Linked DNA regions of Homo sapiens: region 2 is linked to region 1. The links are contacts of gene promoters, found by promoter capture Hi-C in blood cells and fetal thymus (Javierre and others, 2016). All regions are on one chromosome and are shown on one strand. Each heading gives the region's core, a stretch centred on a gene start or on the middle of the fragment in contact. The rest is flanking DNA. Distances are from core to core; before and after follow the strand shown.

Region 1 (6,490 bases), core at 290-2,789:
ACCCCGAAGGCGCGAGCCAGGCCGAAGTCAGCCAGCTTGATGGCACCCAACTCATTGATGAGCAGGTTCTGGGGCTTCAGGTCTCGGTGGATGACCCGATGTGAGTGGCAGAAACTCACCCCCTGCAGCAGCTGGAAGAGGTAGCTCTGGAGAAACGAGCGCGAGGTGCAGCCAGCTGAGCGGAGGTGCTGCGTGGACAGGGATGGCAGGGATGGGGTGTCACCTCTCCTTCCCTGCCCTTCCTTCCCTACCTTGATGAGGTGCAGGGGGAGCTCTGAGCCTGGGGTGGAGTCCATGTACTTCTTCAGGTCCTGGCTGAGGAACTCAAACACCAGATAGAGCTTCCTCTCGTTGTGCACCACGTCCAGCAGTCTGACAGGGAGATGGCAGTCAGGATGCTACCTTCGCCATCCCAGCTTCCCCACCTCAATCCCCAACTCACCGGACGATGTTGGGGTGCTTCAGTTCCTTGAGCAGCGAGATCTCCCTGATGGCAGTGCTTGGGACCCCCTCCATCTCCCTGCAAGAAACAAGGGCACAGCCGTGGGCAGAGACTTGGGCCAAGAAGGGCACTTCCAGCCAGGGGGATCGGCTTCTCCTTAACCCCACAGAATGACCAGGGCCCCGGCAATGGAGACCTGTGCTCCTTGGCACGTCATCCACCAAACTCCACAGTCAGGGCCCCGGCAAAGGCTGGTCAGAAGGCAGTGAACTGGGGAGAGGACAGGTAAGGGCTGCTGGGCAGCACCCAGAGGAGTTAAACGTGGACTCCAGGAAAGAGGGAACGGATCAGGGAGCGCCCAGGTTGTGATGGCCCAGGGTGGGTAACTCAGGGGCCGTCCCAGCACTCACAAATCCAGTCTGATCTTCTTCAGGGCCACCAGCTGCCCTGTCTCCCTGTTCTTGGCCTTGTACACCACCCCATAGGTGCCCTCTCCGATCTTCTCTACCTTCTGGAACATATCCATGGCCACAGAGCTGCCTGGGAAACAGAAGGCACCGGGCAATTTGCACCCCACGCCCAGCGCTCCCGTTGCTCCTCCAGCTTCCATGTGGCGCCCTGCCCAGCCCAGCCCAGCCCAGACTGCCCAGCTCCCAAGGCCCACGGCCTAGCCACCCCAACCCCAGCTCATCCTGCCTGGGAACCTGGCTGGGGGTCGGAAACCGCCCCTCACCCAGCCCAGCCCGGACCCCAAGGGGGTCAGGGGGCCCCCTTCACCCAGCCCAGTTCAGCCAGGACCCCCAGGCTTCTCGCCCATGCCCGGCCTCGGAGGGCAGGGCCCACACTCTCCCACCCAGCCCCCTGCCCATCCCAGCCAGAACCCCCAGGAAGTCAGAGACCACCCCTCGCCCAGCCCAGCCCAACATGGACCCCCAGGCCTCTCACTTGTGCCGGGCCTTAGAGGGCAAGACCACCCTTTCCCACCTGGGTCACTGCCCAGCCCAGCCAGTCCCAGGCTCTGGGTACACATGGCGGCCAGGAAGGGCTGCCCAGGGGCCAGGGCCACTGGGGGCAGAGGTCAGGGGTCAGGAGGGTCTTAAAGCCACAGTCCTGTCTTAGGCTGCACGGTCAGGGCCCAGGGCCTCAGCCCGGCCCGTGTGACGACGCTCAGCCTCCTCTGAAGGCAGAGCCTGGCCAGGGGCAGACCCCTGCATCCTGGGCCCCCCACCCCAGCCCCTGGGCCCCTGGTGCCCTACCCTGAGGCCCCAGGCCCAGAATTCACCAGAAGCCCTGAGAGGCTGCAGCCCACAGCCTGGGTTGCAGCTCCCCCTCCTGGCCCCCGCCGGCGCTGCACCACGAGCACACTTCAAGAGCACGCCCCCTGGGCCTTTATTCACCAGGACCTTCTGGAACCCTCCATGGCCCCACACCAAGCACGGCCCCGGCGCCCAAGCTCGGCCACCTGCAGTCTCCTGGGGTGGGGCTGTCGGATTTATGGCATGCTTTCTGGGTTCTCATTGCTGAGCCAATCCCAAAGTAGGGGAAGGGGCTGGATTCATCACCCGCCCCTCGGCTTTCGAGCTCCAGACAAGGCCGTCGCTGGGGAGGCGTCTGTGCTCTCCCGGGCTCCTGCAGCTCCAGAGGGTTCGGGCTCTGAAGCAGGTGAGGGTGTTGCTAGGCTGCTGTTTCCTACTGGCTGCCGCCCCGCTCCTGCTTGTACAGTCTCTGCTCCCGGATGGCTTGTTCCAACAAGGGCAGGTTCATCCCCTCCACACAGGTCAGCACGCGCGCCTTCACCACGGAGCCTCTGTCTGCAAGACAAACACCAGGGCACGAACGGCGACTGAGCGGCGTGTCAACAACGTCCTCCAAGGTGCATTCCAGCTGTTCCCTCCACAGCTCAGTCCTGGGTTTTGGCAGCAAGTGATGTGGACAATAACAGCATATGGGGCAAAGGCAACTGAGTATTTGGGCCTAGAACCGTGGGCCTGTCATGCACAGTCGGCCCGTGTCTGGAACTTAGCAGGTGGTCAGAAAACCCCTCTGGACTGAGGGAAAGGCCCCCTTGGCACCTTGGGACACAATGTCATCAGGAACCGGGGAAAAGAGACACCCATATTTTAAAAATCCAAGAGACTGAGCTCCCGGTAAGTTTGGCTTTATAGGAGCAGGTCATCCCACCCTGGACGAGGGGGGCTTCTAGCAGATGCGGTGGTGACCTGATACATAATGGAAAGGTTTGCCACTATTCAGGTGGCACCAAACAGGAAAGACATCTCCGAGAGACTTTTTAAAAATTTTCTTTCTTTTGACAGGTGAACTGGCTCACACCTGTAATCTCAGCACTTTGGGAGGCCAAGGCATGTGGAACACTTGAGGTCAGGAGTTCAAGACCAGCCTGGCCAACATGATGAAACCCCATCTCTACTAAAAATACAAAAATTAGCCGCGTGTAGTGGTGCATGCCTGTAATCCCAGCTACTTGGAAGGCTGAGGCAGGAGAATTGCTTGAACCCAGGAGGTGGAGGTTGCAGTGAGCCAAGATCACGCCACTGCACTCCAGCCTGGGCAACAGAGCAAGACTCCACCTAAAAAAAAAAATTTTTTTTTTGAGACAGGGTGTTGCTCTGTCACTTGGGCTGGAATGCAGTGGCTCAATCATGGCTCAATGTAGCCTCCACCTCCCAGGCTCAGGTGATCATCTCAGCTTCCTGAGGAGCTGGGACTACAGGGACGCACCACCACACCCAGCTAATTTTTGTATTTCTTGTAGAGATGGGGTCTCGCCATGTTGCCCAGGCTGGTTTCAAACTCCTGGGGTCAAGTGATCTGCCCGCCTCGGCCTCCCAACATGCATGGATTATAGGCGTGAGCCACTGTGCATTGCTGACATTTTTTTTTTCTTTCTTTTTTCCCCAGTCATAGCTTGCAAGAGAAAAAAAAAAGTTAAAAAAATTTTTTGCACTCATGCTCTTTCTGCTCTCTGAGCACTTTAATAAATAGATTTCCGAGATGGGTGGATCACCTGAGGTCAGGAGTTCATGACCAGCTTGGCCAACACGGCAAAACCCCGTCTCTACTAAAAATACAAAAATTAGCCAGGTGTGGTAGCTGGCACCTGTAAACCCAGCTACTCGGGAGGCTGAGGCAGGAGAATCGCTTGAACCTGGGAGGCAGACGTTGCAGTGAGCCGAGATCAAGCCACTGCACTCCAGCCTGGGCAACAGAGTGAGACTCTGTCTCAAAATAAGTAAATAAATAGATTCAATGTTCTAGGCTATTACATTGTTTTCTTTTGACGCTGTTTGAGATAAAGGCTCTGCCTGCCCTTTCCTCTAGTCTAGGTCATTTATAGCACAGCCTGAGGGCAGAATTCAGGGTGTCATCCTGCCTAGCTGTCTATACAGGCTACCCTTAGGCAATGAACTCATTTGAAACATGAGGTTGCCTGTGTGTCTCAGCTTCTGTTAGCCCCAGTGCTGACACAGGTCAGAGAGGAATCGGGGCGTGGCGCGGTGGCTCCCAACACTGTAATCCCAACACTTTGGGAGGGCAAGACAAGCAGATCACTTGAGGCCAGGAGCTCAAGACCAGCCTGGCCAACAAGCGAAAACCCTGTCTCTACTAAAAATACAAAAGTTACCCAGGCCCGACTACTTGGGAGGCTGAGGCACGAGAATCACTTGAACCGGGGAGGTGGATGTCGCAGTGAGCCAAGATTGCGCCACTGCACTCCAGCCTGGGAAACAGAATGAGACTCTGTCTCAAAAAAAAAAAAAAAAGGAAAAAAAAAGGAAAAAGGCCAGGCGCAGTGGCTCACATCTGTAATCCCAGCACTCTGGGAGGCTGACGCAGGCGGATCACCTGAGGTCAGGAGCTGAAGACCAGCCTGGCCAACATGGTGAAACCCTGTCTCTACTAAAAAGACAAAAATTAGCTGGGTGTGGTGGCGGGCACCTGTAATCCCAGCTACTAGGGAGGCTGAGGCAGAATCGCTTGAACCCAGGAAGCAGAGGTTGCAGTAAGCAGAGATCGTGCCACTGCACTCCCAGCCTGGGTGACAGAGCGAGACTCCATCTCAGGAAAAAAAAAAAAAGATTAAGAACCTGGAGCAAAGAAGAAGGGCCTGGGTTATAAAAAGCAGTCAGAATGCAGTGGGGTGAGGCCTGGGAAGAGGAAGGGGTTATACGGAGCACAGATGTTCTTTTAGGAGGTTTGTCTGCAAAGGGAGGGAAGGTCATGGGCAGGTAGGTCAGACTCTAGTGTAGAAGATGACTTCTTGTCATTGAGACTATTATTTCCATATAGAGGAGGCTTGAACACCTTATATGTGGACAGGGAAGAACTGTGGTAACCCCTTAGGTAGGAGGGACCCCGCTTCCTCTTAGACTAGAGGAAGGAGCTAACGGTGGCCGTTTCAGTGTCTGATGGTCGGTGGCCGTTTCAGTGTCTGATGGTAGGAGGAAGAACGGCTGCCTGTGGCCTCGATTCTAGCTGGCTCATAAAGCAATAAGCCGGGAGGGACAGGGGAGGAGAGGAAGTGGGTTCTTGTGAGGCAGGGGAATTTCTGGACTAGCTGTGGTGGCGCCGGGGAGGGGGGTGTGGCCAGGACACAGGAAGGATTTCTAGGCAGAGCAGGGGAATGCCAGTGAGCCCCTGAAATCATTGAGCTCCAAATCCTTGGAGTTCTGTGATCTTTCTGCACTCAACAGTTGGCAGAACCAGGAGGGTGGAGGCTGGGGTCTTGGGGCAGGAGTGAAGCTGCCAGGAAAGTGGCTGAAATGGTAGTGAGGCCCAACGGGGAAGAGAGATGGGGGAGAAAGCCCGGGAGTCCTGAGTCCACAGGTCCTGATAGGGCAAGAGGGACGCAGCAGAAGTAGAAGGGAGAGTGGATGGCATGCAATTTCAGGAAAACAAGTCCAAGGTGCAGCAGCAGGCGTGGGAGGTGGAATTGGGGCAGAGGTGCACAGTGGTGGAACTGGTTGGCAGCAGGGAGACAGGGAGGGATGTGTGATGCTGACACACCCGAGGAGCCGGGGAAACTCCGGCCCTGCTCCAGACTCTGTGGGTGTGTGGTTTGGGGAGAAAGGTTTGGGCAAGTCCCAGAGCTGTAAGGATGCTCGAAGAGGGAGGTGCACAGGGGACACACAGGAAGGTTTCCCTCCCTCCCTTTCTCTTCTCTTTTCTCTTTCTTTTCTTTTCTTTCTTTTTCTTTCTTTCTCTCTCTCTTTTTTTTTTTTTTTTTGACAGGGTCTCACTCTGTCACCCAGGCTGCAGTACAGTGGTACAGTCTCAGCTCACTGCAATCTCTGCCTCCCTGGCTCAAGTGATCCTCCCACCTCAGCCTCCCCAGTAGCTGGGACTACAGGCATGTGTGCAACAACGCACCCTGCTAATTTTTGCATTTTTTGTAGAGACGGGGTTTCACCATGTTACCCAGGCTGGTTATTATTATTATTTTTTTTTGAGATGGAGTTTTGCTCTTGTCACCCAGGCTGGAGTGCAATGGTGTGATCTCAGCTCACTGCAACCTCCGCCTCCCAGTTTCAAGCGATTCTCCTGCCTTGGCCTCCTGAATAGCTGGGATTACAGGCATGTGCCACCACGCTCAGCTAATTTCGTATTTTTTGTAGAGACAGGGTTTCACCATGTTGGTCAGGCCGGTCTCGAACTCCTGACCTCAAGTGATCCACCCACCTCGGCCTCCCAAAGTGCTGGGATTACAGGCGTGAGCCACCACACCCGGCCGTCCAGGCTGGTCTTGAACTCCTGGACTCAAGTAATCCACCAGCCTCAGCCTCCCAAAAGTTCTGAGATTACAGGCATGAGCCACTGTGCCCAGCCTCTTTTCTTTTTCTTTAGAAACAGGGTCTCATTTTGTCACCCAGGTTGGAGTGCAGTGGCATGATCATAGCTCACTGCAGCATCGAACTCCTGCCTCAAGCCATCCTCCTGCCTCAGCCTCCCAAGTAGCTGGGACTACAAGCACAAGCCACCACACCCCACTAATATTTTCATTTTTGTAGAGATGGCGTCTCTCTGCGTTGC
Region 2 (6,410 bases), core at 3,745-6,244, 55 kb after region 1:
CTGTATTCTTCTGGCCAGTCGGACAGCTGTGCTTCTTCAGTTTGCATGTGTGGCAGCTGTGTTTTGACAGTGGCCAAGATGTTAGAGGAGGGGTGTGTTTTCTCATTGGTTCTCGGGCTCTCAGCACCACAGATGTCCTGACAGATCTGTGCTTGTCCTCTCAGCTTCATGCCCTCACCGCTGGACTGAAGGCTTTCACCTCCTGGACTGCAAACACTGGCATTGAAGCATGTCGGATGGCTTGTGGTGGGCATGGCTATTCTCATTGCAGTGGTCTTCCAAATATTTATGTCAATTTCACCCCAAGCTGTACCTTTGAGGGAGAAAACACTGTCATGATGCTCCAGACGGCTAGGTGAGAGTCAAATCCTCGATTCCTCCCATCTGTTCATAAGAATGTTCTAGTCCTTTTCCTAGGTTCTTGTTCCCATGGTTTTTCTTCACCGTATATATATATTTGTTCCTGAAAGGTATACTTTTGCCTTCCATCCTGACTCACGGTTTTTATTTCGTGGTGAGGCTAGAGAGTATGAAGCACCTGTTACATAGCTTGCAGTTGTATCAAGGATAGAGTTACTGGGCTGGGCACAGTGGCTCATGACTGTAATCCCAGCACTTTGGGAAGCTGAGGTGGGCAGATCATGAGGTAAGGAGTTCAAGACCAGCTTGATCAACATGGTGAAACCGTGTCTCTACTAAAAAAATACAAAAAAATTAGCCGGGCATGATGGCACATTGCCTGTAATCCCGGCCTACTTGGGAGGCTGAGGCAGAAGAATCGCTTGAACCTGGGAAGCGGAGGTTGCAGTGAGCCAAGATTGCGCTATTGCACTCCATCCTGGGCAACAAGAGCGAAAACTCCATCAAAAAAAAAAAGGCCAGGTGTGGTGGCTTACTCCTGTAATCCCAGCACTTTGGGACGCCAAGCCGGGTAGATCACTTGAGGTCAGGAGTTAAGAGACCAGCCTGGCCAACATGGTAAAACCCTGTCTCTACTAAAAAAACAAAATATTAAAAATTAGCCAGGAATGGTGGCAGGTGCCTGTAGTCCCAGCTACTTGGGAGGCTGAGGCAGGAGAATCATTCATTTGAACCCAAGAGGAGGAGGTTGCAGTGAGCTGAGATCTGGCCATTGCACTCCATCCAGCCTAGGCAACAAGAATGAAACTCCATCTCAAAAGAAACAAAAGAAAGTAGAGTTACTAAAAGCATGTTTACTGGTGACTTTTAGGTTCCTGATGAAAAGTTATGATCAGGTGCACTCAGGAAAGTTGGTGTGTGGCATGGTGTCCTATTTGAACGACCTGCCCAGTCAGCGCATCCAGCCACAGCAGGTAGCAGTCTGGCCAACCATGGTGGATATCAACAGCCCCGAAAGCCTAACCGAAGCATATAAACTCCGTGCAGCCAGGTGAGCTCTCCCTCAAGAGCTAGAATACGCAGCAGTGGGGCTGGGGCCCTGACAGATGGCAAGAAGGCATGAGTACTGTTGATCATTTCCTCAGACCTCCAATCTATGTCTTAACAGATTAGTAGAAATTGCTGCAAAAAACCTTCAAAAAGAAGTGATTCACAGAAAAAGCAAGGAGGTAGCTTGGAACCTAACTTCTGTTGACCTTGTTCGAGCAAGTGAGGTCAGTGGTAGTTCTCTCTTTTTCCCCTTCCCTGCCCTCAGCATCCCGCATTTTCTGGTACAGAAACCCTAGTCACTGTATATTGAATCTTTTTCCAAGGTTCTCAAACTCTGGTGTTTTCTTTTTAATCTTAGGCACATTGCCACTATGTGGTAGTTAAGCTCTTTTCAGAAAAACTCCTCAAAATTCAAGATAAAGCCATTCAAGCTGTCTTAAGGAGTTTATGTCTGCTGTATTCTCTGTATGGAATCAGTCAGAACGCGGGGGATTTCCTTCAGGTCAGTATTTTCTAAGTATAAGTCTTTTTTGTTGTTGTTTTAAGAAAAATAATTGTTGGCTGGGCACGGTGGCTCATGCCTGTAATCCCAGCACTTTGGGAGCCCAAGGCGGGTACGGTGATCACTTGAGGTCAGGAGTTCAAGACCAGCCTGGCCTGGTGAAACCCTGTCTCTACTAAAAATACAAAAATTAGCCAGGTGCAGTGGCACATGCCTGTAATCCCAGCTACTAGGGAGGCTGAGGCACGAGAATCATTTGAACCCTGGAGGCAGAGGTTGCAGTGAGCCAAGATGAAACCACTGCATTCCAGCCTGGGTGACAGAGCAATACTCTGTCTCAAAAAAAAAAAAAAAGAAAAAGAAAAATAGCCAGGCACAGTGGCTCATGCCTGTAATCCCAACACTTTGGCCAAGGCGGGCAGATCACCTGAGGTCGGGAGTTCGAGACCAGCCTGACCAACATGGAGAAACCCCATCTCTACTAAAAATACAAAATTAGCCAGGTGTGCTGGCGCATGCCTGTAATTCCAGCTATTTGGGAGGCCAAGGGAGGAGAATTGCTTGAACCTGGGAGGCGGAGATTGCGGTGAGCCAAGATCACACCATTGTACTCCAGCCTGGGCAACAAGAGTGAAACTCAGTCTCAAAAAAAAAAAAAGAAAAAAATAATTGTCATCCGCTTTATAGCTGTATATGCATATAATTATGTCTATCTATATACATATATATGTTTTATTTACTTATTTTGGTCTCTTTTAGGGGAGCATCATGACAGAGCCTCAGATTACACAAGTAAACCAGCGTGTAAAGGAGTTACTCACTCTGATTCGCTCAGATGCTGTTGCTTTGGTTGATGCATTTGATTTTCAGGATGTGACACTTGGCTCTGTGCTTGGCCGCTATGATGGGAATGTGTATGAAAACTTGTTTGAGTGGGCTAAGAACTCCCCACTGAACAAAGCAGAGGTAAAAATCCAGTGTCTCTGCACCTTTTTAAAAGTCTTCACTTAAATATTGAAGCAGGAAAGGCCTCTCGAAGGGGATTTATCTGTGAAAGCTCTGAAAGTACCATGGCCACTTCTGACAGTCACTTTATTTGAGCAACAGGTTCAGAAGGGAACTGGGTTGTTCCCACAGTAACCAGGGTCTTAATCAATTTCAATTTTTGATAACGAATTGAACATTTAAAAATATATACAGGCCGGGTGCGTTGGCTCACACCTGTAATCCCAGCACTGTGGGAGGCCGAGTGGGCAGATCACCTGAGGTCAGGAGTTCGAGACTAGCCTGGCTAAAATGGCGAAACCCAATCTCTACTAAAAATACAAAAAAAGCAGCCAGGCAGTAATGGTGCACGGCTGTAGTCCCAGCTACTCGGGAATTCTCCTGCCTCAGCTTGAACCCAGGAGAACCCAGGAGGCGGAGGTTGCAGTGAGCCACGTTCGTGCCATTGCACTCCAGCCTGGGTGACAAGAGCAAAACTCTGTCTCAAAAAAAAAAAAAAAGTATACACACACACACACACACACAAATAGAATAAAATATACAAAAAGAGAATTCCGTAGTGCTCTTTGGTACACCCTTTGTCTAGCAGCAATGACTATCAACTCGTGGCTAGTTGTGTTTCATCTGAACCTTCATCCCCCTCCTCCTGGGGACTATTTTGAAATAAATCTAAGACATCAGGGCCAGGCTCAGTGATGCACACCTGGGAGGCCGAGGCAGGTGGATCACCTGAGGTCGGGAGTTTGAGACCAGCCTGACCAACATGGAGAAACCTTGTTTCTACTAAAAATACAAAATTAGCCAGGCGTGGTGGCGCATGCCTGTAATCCCAGCTACTTGGGAGGCTGAGACAGGAGAATTGCTTGAGCCTGGGAGGCGGAGGTTGCGGTGAGCCGAGACCATGCCATTGCACTCCAGCCTGGGCAACAAGAGCGAGGCTCCGTTTCAAAAAAAAAAAAAAAACTAAGACATCAGATAATTTTATCCATAAATAATTCAATGCATAGCTCTAAAAGATAAGGACTCTTCAGAAACAACCACAGGCTGGGCACAGTGGCTCACGCCTGTAATCCTAGCACTTTGGGAGGCTGAGGTGGGTGGATCACTTGAATTGAGGAGTTCTAGACCAGCCTGGCCAACATGGTAAACCCCCATCTCTACAAAAAAATACAAATAGCAGCCAGGTGTCATGGCACACACCTGTAGTTCTAGCAACTCGGGAGGCTAAGGTGGGAAGATCGCTGGAGTCTGGGAGGCAGAGGCTGTAGTGAGCCAAGATTGTGCCACTGCACTCCAGCCTGAGCAACAGAGCAGGACTCAGTCTCAAAAAAAAAACAAAAACAAAAACAAAAAACAGTATACTATTTAACATGGCAAACTCTTTATTAGTAGTTCTTCTCTCTCCTTTCCCCACAGGTCCACGAATCTTACAAGCACCTGAAGTCACTGCAGTCCAAGCTCTGAAGTGTCACAAGGACAAGTTTAATCTGCTTCAGAAAGCGCCTGTGTGCAACTCAAATTTTGTGGAATCTTTTTCGAATTCAAATAGCTATAGAGCAAATGATAAATTGACCCCTTTTTATAAATGGAGGGAAAAAATGAACAGATTTCAGAGATTAAATGAAAAAAAGCAGATGTTTTAAGTGCAATTAACACTGAAAGAGACCTGTTAAACCATTCAGAAAAAGCTTAAGAAATGCGATATGACTTCCTTTTGTAATGCTGCTGATCCCAGTAGACTATGACTTTTGATAATTAGCAGAATTTAACTACTGAGTAGTTGATTATTTTCACATTTTAATTGCTAATCACTGGCTATATAAGTGTTTTTAAGCAAAGGTATTTTTGAAGTGGTGTAGAACCCTTCCAAGCTTTCCTGCTCAGTGTTCTACCAGACTTACCCTGGGGCCTGGCTTAAAAGCAGGATTGAAGAAAAGGGACTGGGGGAAGGAAACTTATTGGAAAACTTGATGCGAATGAGTTTCTGCTTGGCACAGTCTCTGCCTGCTTGCTCTCCTTTGCTGATGGATTGCATTTATCAAACTATTCATGCTAGCATTTTTCCAACGAGGGAACTTATTCCGCACGGGCCTACTGTAGGACCATTGTCTCGTGTAATTAGGAATTTTCCATTTGAAGGATTGCTAAATTGTCACAGTAGTAGGAAGTATAGGGAAACCTCTCAGCTGTGGCACTGTTGTAGCTTTGGAGTGCAGAGTGTAACTCTGGGACAATCAGATTTCACATATTCTGTCATCTTGGCATAAGCCATTAAAAGCTTGGAGATTACTGTATTTGGCATTAAAAAAAAATGTCACTTAGGTCAGCACTCCCAGACGTAGCACAGAAAAACCCTTTGACACAAACCATGTGTTCTGATTTTTGGTTCAGAAAATATTGAAACTGTGAGTTGTTTTTTTTTTAACAACTGGGAAAAAACAAAAACAAAAAACTATAGTTAGAAAAATGGAAGTTCCATAGGTTCTATTTCTTACTCTATGTATGGCTTTGTTTTCAGTCTATTTCTAGGAGCTTTCTCTGAATCGCTAATTGTCCTTTCAGTTGAAATCTAATTTATACAATCATTCTATACTTAAAGGTTAAATACATCTTAATTAATTTTTTCTTAAAGTCAATGTAAGTCACTTTGTTTTGTTTTTTTTTAATCTACGCCATATGCCTCATGAAACCAGCTGTTCTAGAATCAGTCCTGAGAATATGGCTTAATTCCATGGAAACATAACTCCTATCTTGGGACCTGACATAATATCTATCTATCCTGGGGAACTGGTAATATGAGACTTATAGGTTACAGCAGAAATGCTACATGTTGACAAAAGCCTTAATCGTTCCACTGGGAGAACTAATTGATAATTGTGTTAAGATTGAAGATTAACCCTGTGTTAATCTCACTTGAGTCTATCCTGACAGTAGTTCAGATTCTGGAAAATGATAAACTGACCTGCTAGATGTAGAATTGTTTCAAAATTAGTGTTGAAATACCTTGTTCACAGATGAATATCTGGGCAGGATCTGAGGGTGTTTGGAATGACACCCCCCAATCCAGTTGCATAGATGGGATGTCTTTGCAGGTTTGAGGAGATCATCGACCTGCAGAGCCCCCTTTGACCCAGTACCTCACGTTTTATTTAAAATCTAAATCTGGGGCCAGGCGTGGTGGCTCACGCCTGTAATCCAAGCACTTTGGGAGGCCGAAGCGGGTGGATCACCTGAGGTCAGGAGTTTGAGACCATCCTGGCCAACATGGTGAAACCCCGTCTCTACTGAAAAAAATACAAAAATTAGCTGGGCATGGTGGTAGCACGCGCCTGTAGTCCCAGCTACTCGGGAGGCTGAGGCAGGATAATCGCTTGAACTTGGCGGGTAGAGGTTGCAGTGAGCCAAGATGGTGCCACTACACTGCAGCCTGGGTGGCTGAGCGAGACTCCGTCTCAAAAAAAAAATCTAAATCTGACATTTGATGCTATTTTTA

The links. Contacts are between HindIII fragments. The CHiCAGO score rates a contact against its expected background, and 5 or more counts as called.
Region 2: a fragment that was not itself captured here is called in contact with the fragment with the promoter of CDK3 in region 1 in 1 of 17 cell types (endothelial precursors); the score reaches 6.1 in endothelial precursors.

The regions. Positions count from the first base shown.
Region 1 is chr17:75,995,904-76,002,393 of GRCh38, reverse strand. CDK3 (cyclin dependent kinase 3) reads right to left here and starts at 1,539. Exons shown (of 8, transcript NM_001258.4): 1 at 1,427-1,539; 2 at 853-982; 3 at 443-520; 4 at 252-372; 5 at 1-146. The coding sequence starts at 968. TEN1 (TEN1 subunit of CST complex) reads right to left here. Exons shown (of 4, transcript NM_001113324.3): 4 at 1,808-2,253. The coding sequence ends at 2,132. TEN1-CDK3 (TEN1-CDK3 readthrough (NMD candidate)) reads right to left here. Exons shown (of 10, transcript NR_037709.1): 4 at 853-2,253; 5 at 443-520; 6 at 252-372; 7 at 1-146. It overlaps LOC124904061 (a long non-coding RNA gene), which reads left to right and starts at 1,834. Exons shown (of 2, transcript XR_007065911.1): 1 at 1,834-2,589; 2 at 2,758-3,722. RefSeq lists a silencer at 1,653-1,732 and enhancers at 1,863-1,912, 4,798-4,847, 5,018-5,097. The HindIII fragment of the contact is 39,600 bases long and covers 1-6,490 here.
Region 2 is chr17:75,944,719-75,951,128 of GRCh38, reverse strand. It overlaps ACOX1 (acyl-CoA oxidase 1), which reads left to right. Exons shown (of 14, transcript NM_004035.7): 9 at 165-355; 10 at 1,232-1,411; 11 at 1,529-1,634; 12 at 1,769-1,912; 13 at 2,672-2,878; 14 at 4,334-6,410. The coding sequence ends at 4,381. Among named protein-coding and RNA genes, the nearest start is that of FBF1, 6.9 kb to the right of the region's middle. The HindIII fragment of the contact is 407 bases long and covers 4,791-5,197 here.